Regions from separate parts of the Homo sapiens genome. Here all the other regions are linked to region 1. Evidence: promoter capture Hi-C in human tissues and cell types (Jung and others, 2019). All regions are on one chromosome and are shown on one strand. Each heading gives the region's core, a stretch centred on a gene start or on the middle of the fragment in contact. The rest is flanking DNA. Distances are from core to core; before and after follow the strand shown.

Region 1 (5,034 bases), core at 1,704-4,203:
TTTATTTTATTTTGTTCTTTTGAGTCGGGGTCTCGCTCTGTCACCCAGGCCGGAGTGCAATGGCATCATCGTAGCTCACTGCAGCCTCAACCTCCTGGGCTCAAGCGATCCTCCCACCTTAGCCTCCCGAGTAGCTAGGACTACAGGCATGTGCCACCACACCTGGCTACTTTCTAAAATGTTTAATTTTTTGTAGAGATGGGGGTCCCACTATTTTGCCCAGGCTGGTCTTGAACTCCTGGGCTCAAGTGATCCTCCCACCTCCACTTCCCAAAGTGCTGGGATATTAGGTGTGAGCCACCATGCCCAGCCAAGATCTGTTTTTAGTGTATCTGGATCTCTGACCCCAGCCTGAAGAGCAAGGAGGGGAACTACTGGGTCCTTGAACAGGAGTTGAAGGGCCCAGGTGGGATAAGCTGATGAAGAACCAGAGATGCGGTTGCTAGGAACTCCCTCACTGTCTGGCCCACACTGTCAGCAATCCCTATGCCAACACACAAGCCTCCATGCCTGGAACCAGCCCAAGCCCCAGACCTCTTGCACCACGCTCTGAGGACAATGGGTCCCAGAGAACAGCAAGTTAGCTCCTGACTCCATCTGCAGCTCCAGGCAACATGAACCAGCTGTTCATGGGTCCCAGGAAAATGCAAGCTAGTGGTTCAGTGGTGCTTCCAGCAATACCCTCACTACCCCCAAAGGTGATAAGTTGTGAGCAACCGGTAGACTGGAACCCACCTGACTCATTCAAGACATTTGGCTCCAGTCTCCTTCCCTTGCTTACAGTGGGGAGACCCTTTCCAAATGGCATTTATACGTCTCAGATAAGGTTGTTTGTCGTGGGAGGTAAGGGTAGGGGTGGACGTGGGGAGTTCCCAGAGTCATGGGGAGGGAAGAACTTTCCAATGCATCCCCCATCTTTCAACCCAGGCACCACCTCTACCCCTGTTCCATTTTGGGGGACATGAACAAAGGTTCCCAGGTCCTTAAACCTTGGAGGAGGCGAGTAATAAAACAGGTCAGCGACTCCAGGCCAAGCCAAAGCTGTGGGCTAGCCTGTAACCCTTGCTTCACATGGTGACCACTTCCTACCCTCCAGTCCAGCACCCTCCAGCCTGGCTCCGTGGAACTCTTAACTCTCATCAGATGTCTAGGCAGAGGCGGAGGCAGCTGGTGAGTCCAGGGCACTGTCAGAAATGTAGTCCAGGTATCTCCTGGACCAAGCGCCCTCCTAAAAGAGGGACAGCATTTCTTGGCCGGGCGTGGTGGCTCATGCCTATAATCCCACCACTTTGGGAAGCCAAGGGAGGCGGATCATCTGAGGTCAGGAGTTGGAGACCAGCCTGACCAACATGGAGAAACCCTCTCTCTACTAAAAAAAAAAAAAAAAAAAAAAAATACAAAAGTAGCCGGGCGTGCTGGCGCATTCCTGTAATCCCAGCTACTCAGGAGGCTGAGGCAGGAGAATCGCTTCAACCCGGGAGGCCGAGATTGTGGTGAGCCGAGATCACGCTATTGCACTCCAGCCTGGGCAACAAGAGTGAAACGCTGTCAAAAAAAAAAAAAAAAAAAAAGAGGAATAACATTTCTCTCTTCATGTCTATCCCCACATCCTTGGGGACATTCTTTAAATCTCATAAATATGAATGATCTCTTTGGGGAGGGGGTGATCAGAGTCATAGCTGGGCATGATCGGAGTCAGAGCTGGGAATGCCGGCAGCCCACCCACCCGCACCCCACTCCCACCACACCCCACACACCTGAAATATCGATGCCCTTGAGGCCGATGGCTTCTTGACACTGGGGGAGGGAGGAGAGGGAGGGAAGGGAGAGCCCAGTCGCCGGAGAGGCGGAGACAAAGAAGGCAGCTGCACAAAGCGCCCAAAGATGAGAGCGAAAAGGACGGGAATGGAGGCAGAGAGCAGACAAAAGCGGACAGGAGATGCGGCCGCAGGGGACAGGCAGGGAAGCCGGAGGAGGCTTCGACACCGAATCACAGACATGACACCTCGTGACTCTGGGCCCAGCAGATGAAAAAAAAAAAATCCTAGCACGCACCCCCTCCCCTGGGACACTGTAAATAGAAAGCAGCGTGACACACCCCCTTCGCCCCGGGGTATGGGGGGCGGGGATCCGTGGAGGGGAAGGGGTCAAGGGGAAAAGAAAGTCAGAAAAAAGGCCGTAAGAGAACAACCTTGGAAACAGAGACGGGGAGAGGCGATGAAGTGGGGGCGGGAGAGAAGGCCTAGGGGGTGGGCAGAGGCAGGGGCCGAGGAAGATGGCCCAGCCAAAGGGGGTGGGGGGAGGGCCCCAGAGGGCCACAGTAGTGGAGAAGGGGGGGCTGTCCTGCAGGGTCTTCCCGAGTGAGGGTCTTCCCTCTGCCTCTACCCCGGATTGGGGGCTTGGGCTTGGGGGAGAGGGAGATTGCAAAGGGAGCGATCTGCTTGGCGGGGGTTCCCCTGGGCGCCGGACCCTGGGGACAGGTGGGAGCGACATGGCAACAGAGGGGGGCGGGGGAGCGCTTCTGGACACCTGAAGCGCAGCCTCTGACTCAGTTTTCTGGGTCTTCGGACTGGGAGGGGCTGGGCAGAAGGGGGCGCAGCCGCTTGGTCCCCCTGAGGGGCGGTGGCCTTCTGCTGCCCCATTCTGCGGTGGAGGAGCACGCTAGCCCCCTCCCCAGTCCCCAGGCCCGGCCGCCCCCCTACCTCGCCGGAGCCGGAGCTGGAGCCAGGGCCGAGATGCCGCAAAGCCAAGCGGGGCGGGCGGCGGGCGCAGACACCCCCGGTGCCAAGAGAGAGGTCCCTTTGGAGCCCCCAAGAGTCAAAGGAGGATGACGCGCGGGGACTCGGCCGCGCTGTCGGAGCCCGACTCTAACGTCGGTCAGCGCTGGGGCAGCGCCGCAGCTCCGTTGGCGACGCGGGCCGGGGCGCCCATCGGTTCAGGGGTTCGGGTGGCACGCGTGGCTCCCCCGGCGACGCTCCGGCGGCAGCTTCGAGGGGCGGAGACCCCGGCGACGCGGAAGAAACCCGGGACGGATCCGGAGCGGACTCGTGCCCTGCTGGCGGGGCCGGGGGTCGGGGTGCGCCCTGGGCAGCTGGGTGGCCTCAAGCCCTACTGGCGAGACTCCGCCCTGTGTCCCGGCTGGGGAGTGGGACTGAGGATGGTGGTGTCTCGGGTTTTGGTGGTGGTGATGCTGGTGTTGCTGGCTTAGTTATCTCCCCACCCCACGCCCAGCACCTCCGTTCTCTGTCCGGGGGTCCCCCACTGCCCTGAAGTACCCCTCCTCCAGGAGCCACCCCTCAATGGAATCTCCTCTCTCCATTATAAGAGCGGCTGGGAAGGGGACTCCGAGCCTTCGTCCCCGGAAACTGATAGAGGGAATCAGAAACCCTAGAACACCGGGAAGGCGAAGAGACATCAAGAGACAGAAGTTGAAAGGCTGAAAAGGGCAGAGGGAGGCCAAGATCTCTCCATCTTCTCACCACTGCGTGGGTGCCTGAGCACCCTGGTTCCCCGGGTGCACAAGGCCCCTAAATCCACAATGTACCCCACGGGACAGCAGGCAGAAAGACCTCCAGGTACACAGCGCACACCCAGGCACATTCACACAGACCTCTGCACTCAGGAGGCGCTGCACCCCACGCTGATCCTGGTGGCTGGGGAGGAAGAGGGAAGTGTGGAGCTGGGACCCGGGTGGGTGCAGCGCTGCCCCTGCTCTAATAAGGCGGTGGCCCAGGCTCTTAACTCCTACAAGGTTCTCCATCCCACCTATAAAGTGAGCTCAAGACTGGGTGCGGTGGCTCAAGCCTGTGATCCCAGCACTTTGGGAGGCCGAGGCGGGGGAATCACTTGAGGTCAGGAGTTCGAGACCAGCCTGGCCAACATGGTGAAACCCCGTCTCTACTAAAAATACAACAATTAGCCTGGCCTGGCCGGGCACGGTGGCTCATGCCTGTAATCCCAGCACTCTGGGAGGCCGAGGTGGGAGGATCACCTGAGGTCAGGAGTTCAAGACCAGCATGGCCAACATGGCGAAACCCCGTTTCTACTAAAAATACAAAAATCAGCCGGGCACAGTGGCCTGCACCTGTAATCTCAGCTACTTGGGAGGCTGAGGCAGGAGAATCGCTTGAACCCGGGAGGCAGAGATTGCAATGCGCCGAGATCGTGCCACTGCACTCCAGCCTGCGCGGCAGAGCGAGAATCCAACTCAAAATAAAATAAAATAATAAATAAAGTGAGATCAGAACACCTTCAGTTCTACCCTGTAAGGAGCCAGGAAAGTGATGGACAAAGCCCTTTAGCAACTGTAAACTGCTTTGGAGATGCAGGGAATAATTTTTTTTTTTTTTTTTTGAGAGGAGTCTCACTCTCGCCTAGGCTGGAGTGCAGTGGCGCGATCTCGGCTCACTGCAAGCTCTGCCTCCCGGGTTCATGCCATTCTCCTGCCTCAGCCTCCCCAGTAACTGGGACTACAGACGCCCGCCACCACCCCCGGCTAATTTTTTGTATTTTTAGTAGAGACGGGGTTTCACCGTGTTAGCCAGGATGGTCTCGATCTCCTGACCTCGTGATCCGCCCGCCTCGGCCTCCCAAAGTGCTGGGATTACAGGCGTGGGCCACCGTGCCCGGCCGATGCAGGGAATAATGTTAAGGCCTTTCAAGGTCTGCTGGAGTCCTCTCTCCAGGGGCCGCCCAGCTCTCATGCTCCCCCTACCCTCTCCCCCACCCCAAAATTCATTGTTCACCCATCTTATTCCATTTTTTCTTTCTTTACTTTCCGAGGTGATAACTTCATAATCAGGCAAACTGATCCCATTGGATGTGCCAATGCAATAAGAAGGAAGGTCATGTTCCTGGAATCCCACATACAGGAATTCCAACCGAGGGTTAAAGGGCTAAACAGGAATAACACCAAGGGTTAAAGGGATGAGAATCCCGACTTCTAGGCTGAGGCAGGGCAAAATGCAACTGACAAGTTACTCAACATTTTTTAATAGGACTTCCCCCCATTTCTGATCTCTGAAAGTGCTAACA
Region 2 (5,034 bases), core at 1,073-3,572, 1.2 Mb after region 1:
TGAAAAAAGCCACGACAGAGGGAAGAACACAAAATCAGCTCTGTGTCCAAGTAGCAAAGCAGTCCTGCTTCATTAGTCAATTAAAATTCTTTGGTCTTAAGAGATGTAACTTGGGCTGGGTGCTGTGGCCCCTGCCTGTAATTTCAGCGCTTTGGGAGGCCAGGCGGGAGGATGGTCCGAGGCCAGGAAGGAGTTCAAGACCAGCCTGGGCAACATAGTGGGTCCCTGTCTTTACAAAAATAAAAAAATTGCCTGGTGTGGTGGTGTACGCCTGAGAGTCCTAACTATTCTGGAGACTGAACCGGGAGGATCACTTGAGCCCAGGAGTTCAAGGCTGCAGTGAGCTCTGATTGCACCACTGCACTCCAGCCTGAGGAACAGAGCAAGAACCTGTCTCTAAAAAAAGAGAGGGAGATATATAATTTTGTCAACAGGTTTATACTTAAATGCTTTCATGTTTAAATGTTGCAGGACAAAGCAGTTCCAATTCCAGAGAAAATGAGTGAATGGGCACCTCGACCTCCCCCAGAATTTGTCCGAGATGTCATGGGTAATGGCTGTGTGTGTGTGTGTGTGTGTGTGTGTGTGTAAATATAATTTTTTAAGGTAGCTATAGGCTGGGCGTGGTGGCTCATGCCTCTAATCCCAGCACTTTGGGAGGCCGAGGCGGGCGGATCATGAGGTCAGGAGATCGAGACCATCCTGGCTAACACGGTGAAACCCCGTCTCTACTAAAAATACAAAAAAAATTAGCCGGGCGTGGTGGCAGGCACCTGTAGTCCCAGCTACTTGGGAGGCTGAGGCAGGAGAATGGCGTGAACCCAGGAGGCGGAGCTTGCAGTGAGCCGAGATGGCGCCACTGCACTCCATCCTGGGCAACAGAGCGACATTCTGTCTCAAAAAGAAAAAAAAAAGGTAGCTATAAAAATCCTGTAGTTGGTATTTGTTAAATCTCTGATGAGGGGAAATGTGTGTTCACATGTTCGTGTTTTGCTTTTACAATGACGGGGATATAGTTGCTTTTATTTGTTTTTCATTTGACATTGGTAAATTTAGCTTAAGGGCTATAGTTGCTTATGGTTTGGCACTATAGAATTTTCTCCTGCAGTATTGCGGTTTTTTTTGTTTTTGTTTTTGTTTTTGTTTTTCTTTTGGAGACAGAGTCTCACTCTGTCACCCAGGCTGTAGTGCAGTGACACCATCTCGGCTCACTGCAACCTCCGCCTTCCGGGTTCAAGCGATTCTCCTGCCTTAGCCTCCTGAGTAGCTAGGACTACAGGCCCGTGCCACCATGCCTGGCTGATTGTTTTATTTTTAGTAGAGACTGGGTTTCACTATGTTGGCCAGGCTGGTCTTGAACTCCTGACCTCAGGTGATCCGCCCGCCTCAGCCTCCCAAAATGCTAGGATTACAGCTGTGAACCACAGTGCCCGGCCATCTCCTGCATTATTCTTAATAACGCATTGTGGTTTTTTTGTAAATAAAAATAGTTTTATTATTTTGTTGGATCATAAATTAACATATCTACAGGCTTACCATGGAGATGGTGCGGGTTTAGTTCCAGGCAACCTAGTTAAAGTGAATGTCGCAATAAAGGGAATCATGTAAATTCTTTAGTTTCCCACTGCACATACAAGTTTTCTTTATACTCTACTGTAGTTTAATGTGCAATAGCATTATGTCTTTAAAAAGCAACATAGGCCAGGCACGGTGGCTCGTGCCTGTAATCCCAGCACTTTGGGAGGCCGAGACAGGAGAATTGCTCGAGTTTGAGACCAGCCTGGGCAACACAGGAAGACCTCATCTCTACTAAAAATGTAAAAATTAGCCAGGCATAGTGGTGCATGCCTCTGGTCCCAGCTACTTGGGAAGCTGAGGCAGGAGGATGGCTTGAGCCCAGGAGGTTGAGGCTCCAATGAGCTGTGATTGCGCCACTGCCCTCCATCTTGGGTGACAGAGCAAGGCCCTGTCTCAAAAAAAAGAAAAAAGCTGAAGAAAAAACACTTTTACAAAAATATGATTGTTCTACATATACAACTTTGTAAGCACCTTTATTTCATTTAATGTATCATGGATGTCTTTTCAACTCACTAGAAATTTAGCGTGTCAAATGTGAAATCATGGAGGAGGTGAGAAAGTCACTTAACCACAGTCTGCCCCTCCTGATACTGCATTTGAGTGGGATTTTTAGTGACTTTACATTCAACATTCATAGAACAAATAATTCACGACATCTACAATATGCCAGGTACTGGGCCAGTTCTGGATACAGTGGGGAGAAAGGAAGGCATGGTCCCTTCCACGACTTCCACTTTTTGTTTCTTTAGTCACCCTCGATTAAGGGTGACCTGTGTTGGTAACTGAATTTCATCTAGAACTGTGGACTGTTCTGGCTACAGGTTCAAGTGCTGGGGCCGGCAGTGGAGAGTTCCACGTGTACAGACATCTGCGCCGGAGAGAATATCAGCGACAGGACTACATGGATGCCATGGCTGAGAAGGTCAGTGAGCCAGAAGGCTGGCTGAGCCCCCATGTTTGGGCAGTGTGCGTGTACTTTCTTTAGAAAAAAGCATTTGAAGAGGCTGGGCGTGGTGGCTCAGGCCTGTAATCCCAGCACTTTGGAAGGCCGAGGCAGGGGATCACCTGAGGTCGGGAGTTTGAGACCAGCCTGACCAACATGGAGAAACTCTGTCTCTACTAAAAATACAAAATTAGCCAGGTGCATGCTTGTAATCCCAGCTACTCAGGAGGCTGAGGCAGGAGAATCTCTTGAACCCAAGAGATGGAGGTTGCAGTGAGCCAAGATCGTGCCATTGCACTCCAGCCTGGGCAACAAGAGCGAAACTCCATCTCAAAAAAAAAAAAAAAGAGAGAAAAGAAAAGAAAAAAGCGTTTGAGGAAGAATAGATACTGCTAGTTGTGGCTGGTGTGAGGTCTGCCTTCTACGGACAGCACAAAATGCAGAGTCTCTACTAAAAATACAAAACCCCGTCTCTACTAAAAATACAGAAATTAGCTGGGCGTGGTGGTGGGCAACTGTAGTCCCAGCTACTTAGGAGGCTGAGGCAGGAGAATTGCTGGAACGTGGGAGGTGGAGGTTGCAGTGAGCCTAGATTGCACCATTGCATGCCAGCCTGGGCGACAGAGTGAAACTCCATCTCAAAAAAAGGAAAAAAAAAATAACACCAAGAAATAATCATAAAATATTGTAATATTTAGCCATAAAAAGGAACAAACTACTGATCTGTACAGCAACTGGGATGAATCTTTAAACATGGTGAGTAAAAGAAGCCTTGCACGAAAGAGACCATATTGTGTAATTTCATTTATATGACGTTTTAGAGCAGGTACAATTAGTTTGTGTGAGAAAAAAAAACTGGTTATCTGGTTGGGGTCACGGTTGACTGGGAAAAGACGTATGAGGGGACTTTCTGGGGTGATCAAACTGTACACTCGAGATCTGGGCATTTGGTTCTGTGTAGATACTAACTTTATTTATTATTTTGAGATGGAGTTTTGCTCTTGTTGCCCAGGCTGAGAGCAGTGGGGTGATCTTGGCTCACTGCAACCTCCACCTCCCAGTTTCAAGTGGTTCTCCTGCCTCAGCTTCCTGAGTAGCTGGGACTATAGGCACAACCCCCATGCCTGGCTAATTTTTTGTATTTTTAGTAGAGATGGGGTTTCAGTATGTTGGCCAGGCTGGTCTTGAACTCCTGACCTCAAGTGATCCACCTGCCTCGGCCTCCCAAAGTGCTGGGATTACAGGCGTGAGCCACCATGCCCGGCCAGCTATTACTTTAAAAGGAAGAAGAAAAGCATACACAAATATGAAACCCTATTTAATAACGTGCATGCTTGAATGTTCAAGAATGGAACTTCCCGATGTCTGCAGCTTACTTTGAAATGCACCAAAACAAACAAACAAAAAAATGATGAATTAGTGGAGGAATAGATGTATGAGTAGAGCTCTGGAAGGGAGGAATCATAATTTTCCCCATTTTATAGATGAGGAAAATGAGGCTTGGAAACAGGACTGCTGGGAAGACATAATACAGTGCATACCAATAGAGGTATGGATAGATCAATAGGTGTGTGATAAAGAAAATCCAGCACAACAGGAATTGTTGAGTCAAAGAGCAGTGGATATATCTGCTGTATAATTCTTTTAACTTTTCTGTTTGAAATTTTCAAAATAAAACATTAGGGAAAATTTAAACCAAAGAGACAGCCAGGATACAGAAGAAAATATGTAAGAATTTATTGGAATGGCCAAAATTGAGTTAGAAAAAATTCTGCTTTGGGGGGCCAGCCGTGGTGGCTCATGCCTGTAATCCCAGCACTTTAGGAGGCCAAGGTGGGTGGATCACTTGAGGTCAGGATTTCAAGACCAGCCTGGCCAACATGGTGAGACCCCATCTCTACTAAAAATACAAAATTAGCCGGGCGTGGTGGCACATGCCTATAATCCCAGCTACTCGGGAGGCTGAGGCAGGAGAATCGCTTGAACCCAGGAGTTGGAGGTTGCGGTGAGCTGAGATTGCGCCATTACACTCCAGCCTGGGCAACAAGAGTGAAACTCTGTCTCAAAAAAAACAAAAACAAAAATTAACCAGGCGCAGTGGTGCACACCTGTAATCCCAGCTACTTGGGAGGCTGAGGCAGGAGAATCACTTGAACCTGGGAGACGGAAGTTGCAGTGAGCTGAGATTGTGCCACTGCACTCCAGCCTGGGCGACAGAGTGAGACTCCTTCTGAAAAAAGAAGAAGAAAAAATGTCCTGCTCTGGAAACAGAATGGGGTCATTGTTGTGCTGGCTGTCAACTGATACTTGCTTGTCCTGTAGTTTTTCCTGGCCCCTGGGTGTTGGTGGTTCTTCTTGTTTCTGCCATCTTTTGTTGGTAACAGTCTCAATCCTAGTGAGAAGTATTAGACAGTTTTTGTCACAAAATTCTACCAGGTCACTGCAGTGGGTTTGCCTGTCAAAAATAATGCTCTGTGTATAGAAACCATCAAGCTGGGTGCGGCAGCTCACAT
Region 3 (5,034 bases), core at 1-2,500, 1.2 Mb after region 1:
CCTCAGCCTCCCAAAGTGTTGGGATTACAGGCGTGAGCCACCGTGCCCGAGCACTTTTTTTTTTTTTTTTTTGAGATGGAGTCTCACTCGTCGCCCAGGCTGGAGTGCACTGGCACAATCTCGGCTCACTGCAAACTCCGCCTCCTGGGTTCCCTTCATTCTCCTGCCTCAGCTTCCCGAGTAGCTGGGACTACAGGCACCCGCCGCCATGCCCGGCTAATTTTTTGTATTTTTAGTAGAGACGGGGTTTCACCGTGTTAGCCAGGATGGTCTCGATCTCCTGACCTCGTGATCCGCCCGCCTTGGCCTCCCAAAGTGCTGGGATTACAGGCGTGAGCCACCGCGCCTGGCCGCCCGAGCACTTTTACTTTTCCTTAGTTATATTCCTCTAATTGTTTTCTCTTCTCTAGTTGTAGATAATGAGCATTTTATTAATACCTTGTTCTTGATCTTAATGGGAAGGTATGTAGTTTTTCCCTGTTAAGTAAAATCCTGACTTTTGGACCAAGAAGACTGAGGCATAAGAGTTTATGTGTGTGCGTGTGTGTGTGCACGTGCATGTGCGTGTGTGTGTATATACACAAACTATATATGTGCTTGTGTGTAATTGAAATACATATGTCACATATATATCATACGTACTACTGCATATTAGGGTGTAATATTTATATTTGTATATATACATAATATTGATGTTAATGAAGCATCCATCAGTTTCTGTTTTCTTTAGTTTGTTTTTTTAAATCAGGTTTTTCTGTCAAGCTTTTTCAAGTATCTTCATGGATACAAGATTTTTCTTCTTTGCTGTGTTATAGTGGCCTATCATATTAATAGGTTTCCAAATATTAAACTAGTCTATATTATTGGAATAAGTCCTATTTGTCTGTTGTATATTATGTTTTTAATCTGGTACTGGATTTTGTTTGGTTATGTTTCATTTTGGGTATTTGTATTGATATAAGTGGTATTGTATTGGCATGTAATTTTATGTTATTTATTGGCTGATCCATCTTCTAACCCCTCCACCTCCTTGCCTTCTGGACTAACTTAACCTAGAAGGTTATTACTCTCTCTCGGTGATTTTATCAGCTCCTGTGGCCTGCCTGTGGATAAGCTTGGATGTTCTGCTTTAGTTTCTCAGCCCACCAGCCTAGCGGCTCTGCCTCTGCTATCTCTTGGGATCTACATTGTCCTAGCTATATCACTGGGTTTGAACCCCTTGTTGATATCTTCTTTATAAATAACAGGATAATGCAACATGCTTACTGGGCACTTCCTTTTTCTAAACTACAAGTTTGGGCAGGGTATGCTGGCCCAAGACTGTAATCCCAACACTTTGGGAGGCCAAGGCAGGTGGATTGCTGGAGCCCAGGAGTTTTGCATTTTTCTTTTTTTTTTCTTGAGACAAGGTCTCGCTCTGTTGCCTAGGATGGAGTGCAGTGTCGCATTTACAGCTCACTGCAGCCTTGACCTCCCAGGCTCAAGCCATCCTCCTGCCTTAGCCTCCCAGGTAGCTGGAACTACAGGCATGTGCCATGATGCCCAGCCAATTTTTAAAAAAAATTTTATTTTTAGTAGAGATGAGGTTCTTACTATGTTGCCCAACGTGGCCTCGAACTCCTGAGCTCAAATGATCCTCCCATCTCGGCCTCCCAAAGTGCTAGGACTATAGGCATGAGCCACCATGCCCAGCCCCAACCTCTTAAAAATTGAAGCTGCTTCATGTTTGCCATTGGTACTTTTTACACCTCATCATATTCTTCTTCCCCTTCATCCCATAGAATACACAATTCATCTTTAAGGACTTCAAGTTAACTGAGTCTGTGAAGCCTAACTGATGGCATAAAGTTAAAATAATTTGATCCTCTTTTGTTAAATCATTCTGCACCTTGTCTGCATTACTCTAATAACAGCTTTGGGCATTCATTCATTTAATGAATATTTATTGCTGTGAGATTGAGATGTTTGAGATAAAACTCAGCCATGCAGATAGCCAGAGGCCACTGGCTATGAGAATAAAAAAGACAAAAGAACAAGGAGCTGAAACTAGGTGAGAGCCCCAGAGCAGTGAGTTAGGAAGAAGAAGACCAGGAACTGAGTGGTGGGCACTCCAACATGAAGAGGTCCAGGAGAAGGGGAGGGCCTGGCAGCAAAGAAGTGACAAGGAGTAAAATGCTTGTGTTTGTTTACATGTTTATCTCCTTATTAGGTTGTCTGCTTTCTCAGAGCAGGCATGGTGTTTCACTCATCTCATGTCCCCAAAACTCAGTTCAGTTGCAAAATAGGAGCTCAGTTGTGTTTTGGGTTTTTATTTTTGTGGGGTAATATATATTTTATATATATATATCCCCAAAGGATATATGTTTCCTGTATGATTTCCAATATGATTTCCCTTCCATAATCTGTAACATAAAATAAGGTATACAATGTTCATGGTTAACTTTACGAGTGAGCTTTGTAAAATGATATCCCCCTATCCCTTTTCCATATCTCCCAATTCTGATCATGTTGCCATTACAGGGGCCAGTGTCATTCAAAGATGTGGCTGTGGATTTCACCCAGGAGGAGTGGCAGCAACTGGACCCTGATGAGAAGATAGCATACGGGGATGTGATGTTGGAGAACTACAGCCATCTAGTTTCTGTGGGTGAGGATAGCTTGCTTTCTGAATGCTCTCAGTTGAATGGGGTTTTATCCTTGAGTTTGAAGAAATAAGTGATGACACCATTTAATTCCTTGTGGGCACTAGCTGGAGCGTTTATATTATTCTTCATTGAAAGGTTCTAACTTTGATAAGGTAAAAAATGGAGCACTTCTGTTATGCAGCTTATGAGGTGGCAACATCTTGTACTTTGGAGATTCTGAAGCCAAGCAGCTTGCCCAAGTCCTTCTTCTTTTCCCATTAACAGGGTATGATTATCACCAAGCCAAACATCATCATGGAGTGGAGGTGAAGGAAGTGGAGCAGGGAGAGGAGCCGTGGATAATGGAAGGTGAATTTCCATGTCAACATAGTCCAGGTAAGTTAGTAGATTATCACATGTTAAAAAACACTCATCCCCGACCTTTGGGAGTGACTAAAGAGTTGTTTATATGTACTCGGTACCCTCAGTAACACCTCCCAACCCCCAAATATCACTTTCCTTCCCACACACATACCACATACATGAACTCTTTTGTTGATTTTACATTTGATTTACATTGGTAGGGATTTTTTCATTCTAACCTGTACTGGGGACCCAGTCACTTCCTCTTTCTCCAGCATTATCGCTCACTTATTTACTCCCTCGCCATTAGAGAATTGTTGTGAGTTTTTTGTTTGTTTGTTTGTTTGTTTGTTTTTTGGAGACAGAGTCTTGTTCTATCACCCAGGCTGGTGTGCACTGGTATGTTCTCGCTCACTGCAACCACTATCTCTCAGGTTCAAGCGATTCTCCTTCCTCAGCCTCCTGAGTAGCTGGGATTACAGGCACATGTCACCACGCCTGGCTAATTTTTGTATTTTTAATAGAGACTGGGTTTCACCATGTTGGCCATGCTGGTCTTGAACTTCTGGCCTCAAGTGATCTGCCCACCTCAGCCTTCCAAAGTGCTGAGATTACAGTCCTGAGCCACTGCTTTCGGCCTTACAGAATTGTTTTGTTTTGGGGCATTCAGAAGTCTGACATAAAAATTAACTTGAGACTTTTAGGTTCATTCTTTTAATCTTCCATTTTCTTTCCTTCCTTGCTTTAAAAATACCTTGGACTTATTTTCTGCCCTCGATTTTATTTACTTCTTTAGGCATTCAGATACCAAAACCTCGTCCTCTACCTATGCTTGCGAATTGAGTCACAGCTTGTGGTTTACCTTATTTCCCCAAGTCCATGCTCAGTTGATGTGATGATATAGCGCTCCCTCAGCTTTCCCCTCTTTCCCCAGTGCTCATTTATGACCCGTCTGTGTGTTCATTTCCCCTTCCCCATAACTGGCATCATGCTCTGTCCATAGTAGACATTCAGGAAGTGTGAATTTCATAAGGGAATGTTGGTTCCTTTTCTTGCCTTTTCAGGAGTGTCCCCCTAGAACCCGTTTTCTACTTTTTTGGTTTTCTTTGTATCCCTTAAAAGAGTTTTTCTAATCTCAACTTCTAAGACCTTTTTTCTTGTGTATTTTTGCAGTTTGCCTCCAGATTGATATGTCTGACACTTTTAACCTAGTTGAATATTTTACTTGACAACATAGCAGTACCAGTGAGATAGTTCACTTCCTTCTTTCTCAGAATGTCTGATGATAAACTGTGCACATTCCAAAATCATGAATTCTGTCTACCTTCCTCACCTCCCAGTATTTGATTGTGTTAGTCTCCTCTCCATTGTTTGTGTTCTTTGTCTTCTGTGAAATGCCTTGCAGATCATCAGCACATTGTTTCTTTTGACATTAGTGTTCAGTATTCTCCCATACCTGGATTACAGTGGATCCATCTTCCATTCAAAGGATCATGGTCCTTTTCCTTCATCTGCATTTTACTGGCCCAGATAATATATATTTTCCCTCCCTTTCTTCCTCCCCTCCCCTCCCTCGCTTCCTTCCTTCCTTCCTTTTTGAGATGGAGTCTCACTCTGGTCACCCAGGCTGGAGTGCAATGGCATGATCTCGGCTCAGTGCAGCCTCCCCCTCTCAGGTTCAAGGGATTCTCCTGCCTCACCCTCCCAAAGCAGCCGGGATTACAGGTGCACACCACCATGCCTGGCTAATTTTTATATTTTTAGTAGAGATGGGGTTTCACCATATTGGTCAGGCTCGTCTCTAACTCCTGACCTTGTGATCCGCCTGCCTCATCCTCTCAAAGTGCTGGGATTACAGGCCTGAGCCACTGTGCCCAGCCTATTTATTTATTGAGACAGAGTCTCACTCTGTCACTGAGGCTGGAGCGCACTGGCGCAATCTTGGCTCATGATAACCTCTGCCTCCCAGGTTCAAGTGATTCTTGTGCCTCAGCCGCCCGAGTAGCTGGGATTACAGGTGTGCACCATCATGCCCGGCCTATTTTTG

The links. Contacts are between HindIII fragments. The study calls those that stand out against the background at their distance.
Region 2: a fragment that was not itself captured here is called in contact with the fragment with the promoter of NAT16 in region 1 in 1 of the 25 tissues and cell types used here (lymphoblastoid cells).
Region 3: a fragment that was not itself captured here is called in contact with the fragment with the promoter of NAT16 in region 1 in 1 of the 25 tissues and cell types used here (dorsolateral prefrontal cortex).

What each region holds. Positions count from the first base shown.
Region 1 is chr7:101,177,340-101,182,373 of GRCh38, forward strand. It overlaps NAT16 (N-acetyltransferase 16 (putative)), which reads right to left and starts at 2,954. Exons shown (of 4, transcript NM_198571.3): 1 at 2,703-2,954. RefSeq lists an enhancer at 2,735-3,457 and a silencer at 2,829-3,123. The HindIII fragment of the contact is 15,471 bases long and covers 1-5,034 here.
Region 2 is chr7:102,397,149-102,402,182 of GRCh38, forward strand. It overlaps PRKRIP1 (PRKR interacting protein 1), which reads left to right. Exons shown (of 6, transcript NM_024653.4): 2 at 472-550; 3 at 2,400-2,500. It overlaps LOC100630923 (LOC100289561-PRKRIP1 readthrough), which reads left to right. Exons shown (of 9, transcript NR_038967.1): 5 at 472-550; 6 at 2,400-2,500. Among named protein-coding and RNA genes, the nearest start is that of PRKRIP1, 3.3 kb to the left of the region's middle. The HindIII fragment of the contact is 8,345 bases long and covers 1-5,034 here.
Region 3 is chr7:102,373,303-102,378,336 of GRCh38, forward strand. LOC100630923 (LOC100289561-PRKRIP1 readthrough) reads left to right here. Exons shown (of 9, transcript NR_038967.1): 3 at 2,521-2,647; 4 at 2,910-3,020. It also overlaps the pseudogene LOC100289561. Among named protein-coding and RNA genes, the nearest start is that of SPDYE6, 19 kb to the left of the region's middle. The HindIII fragment of the contact is 5,084 bases long and covers 1-3,792 here.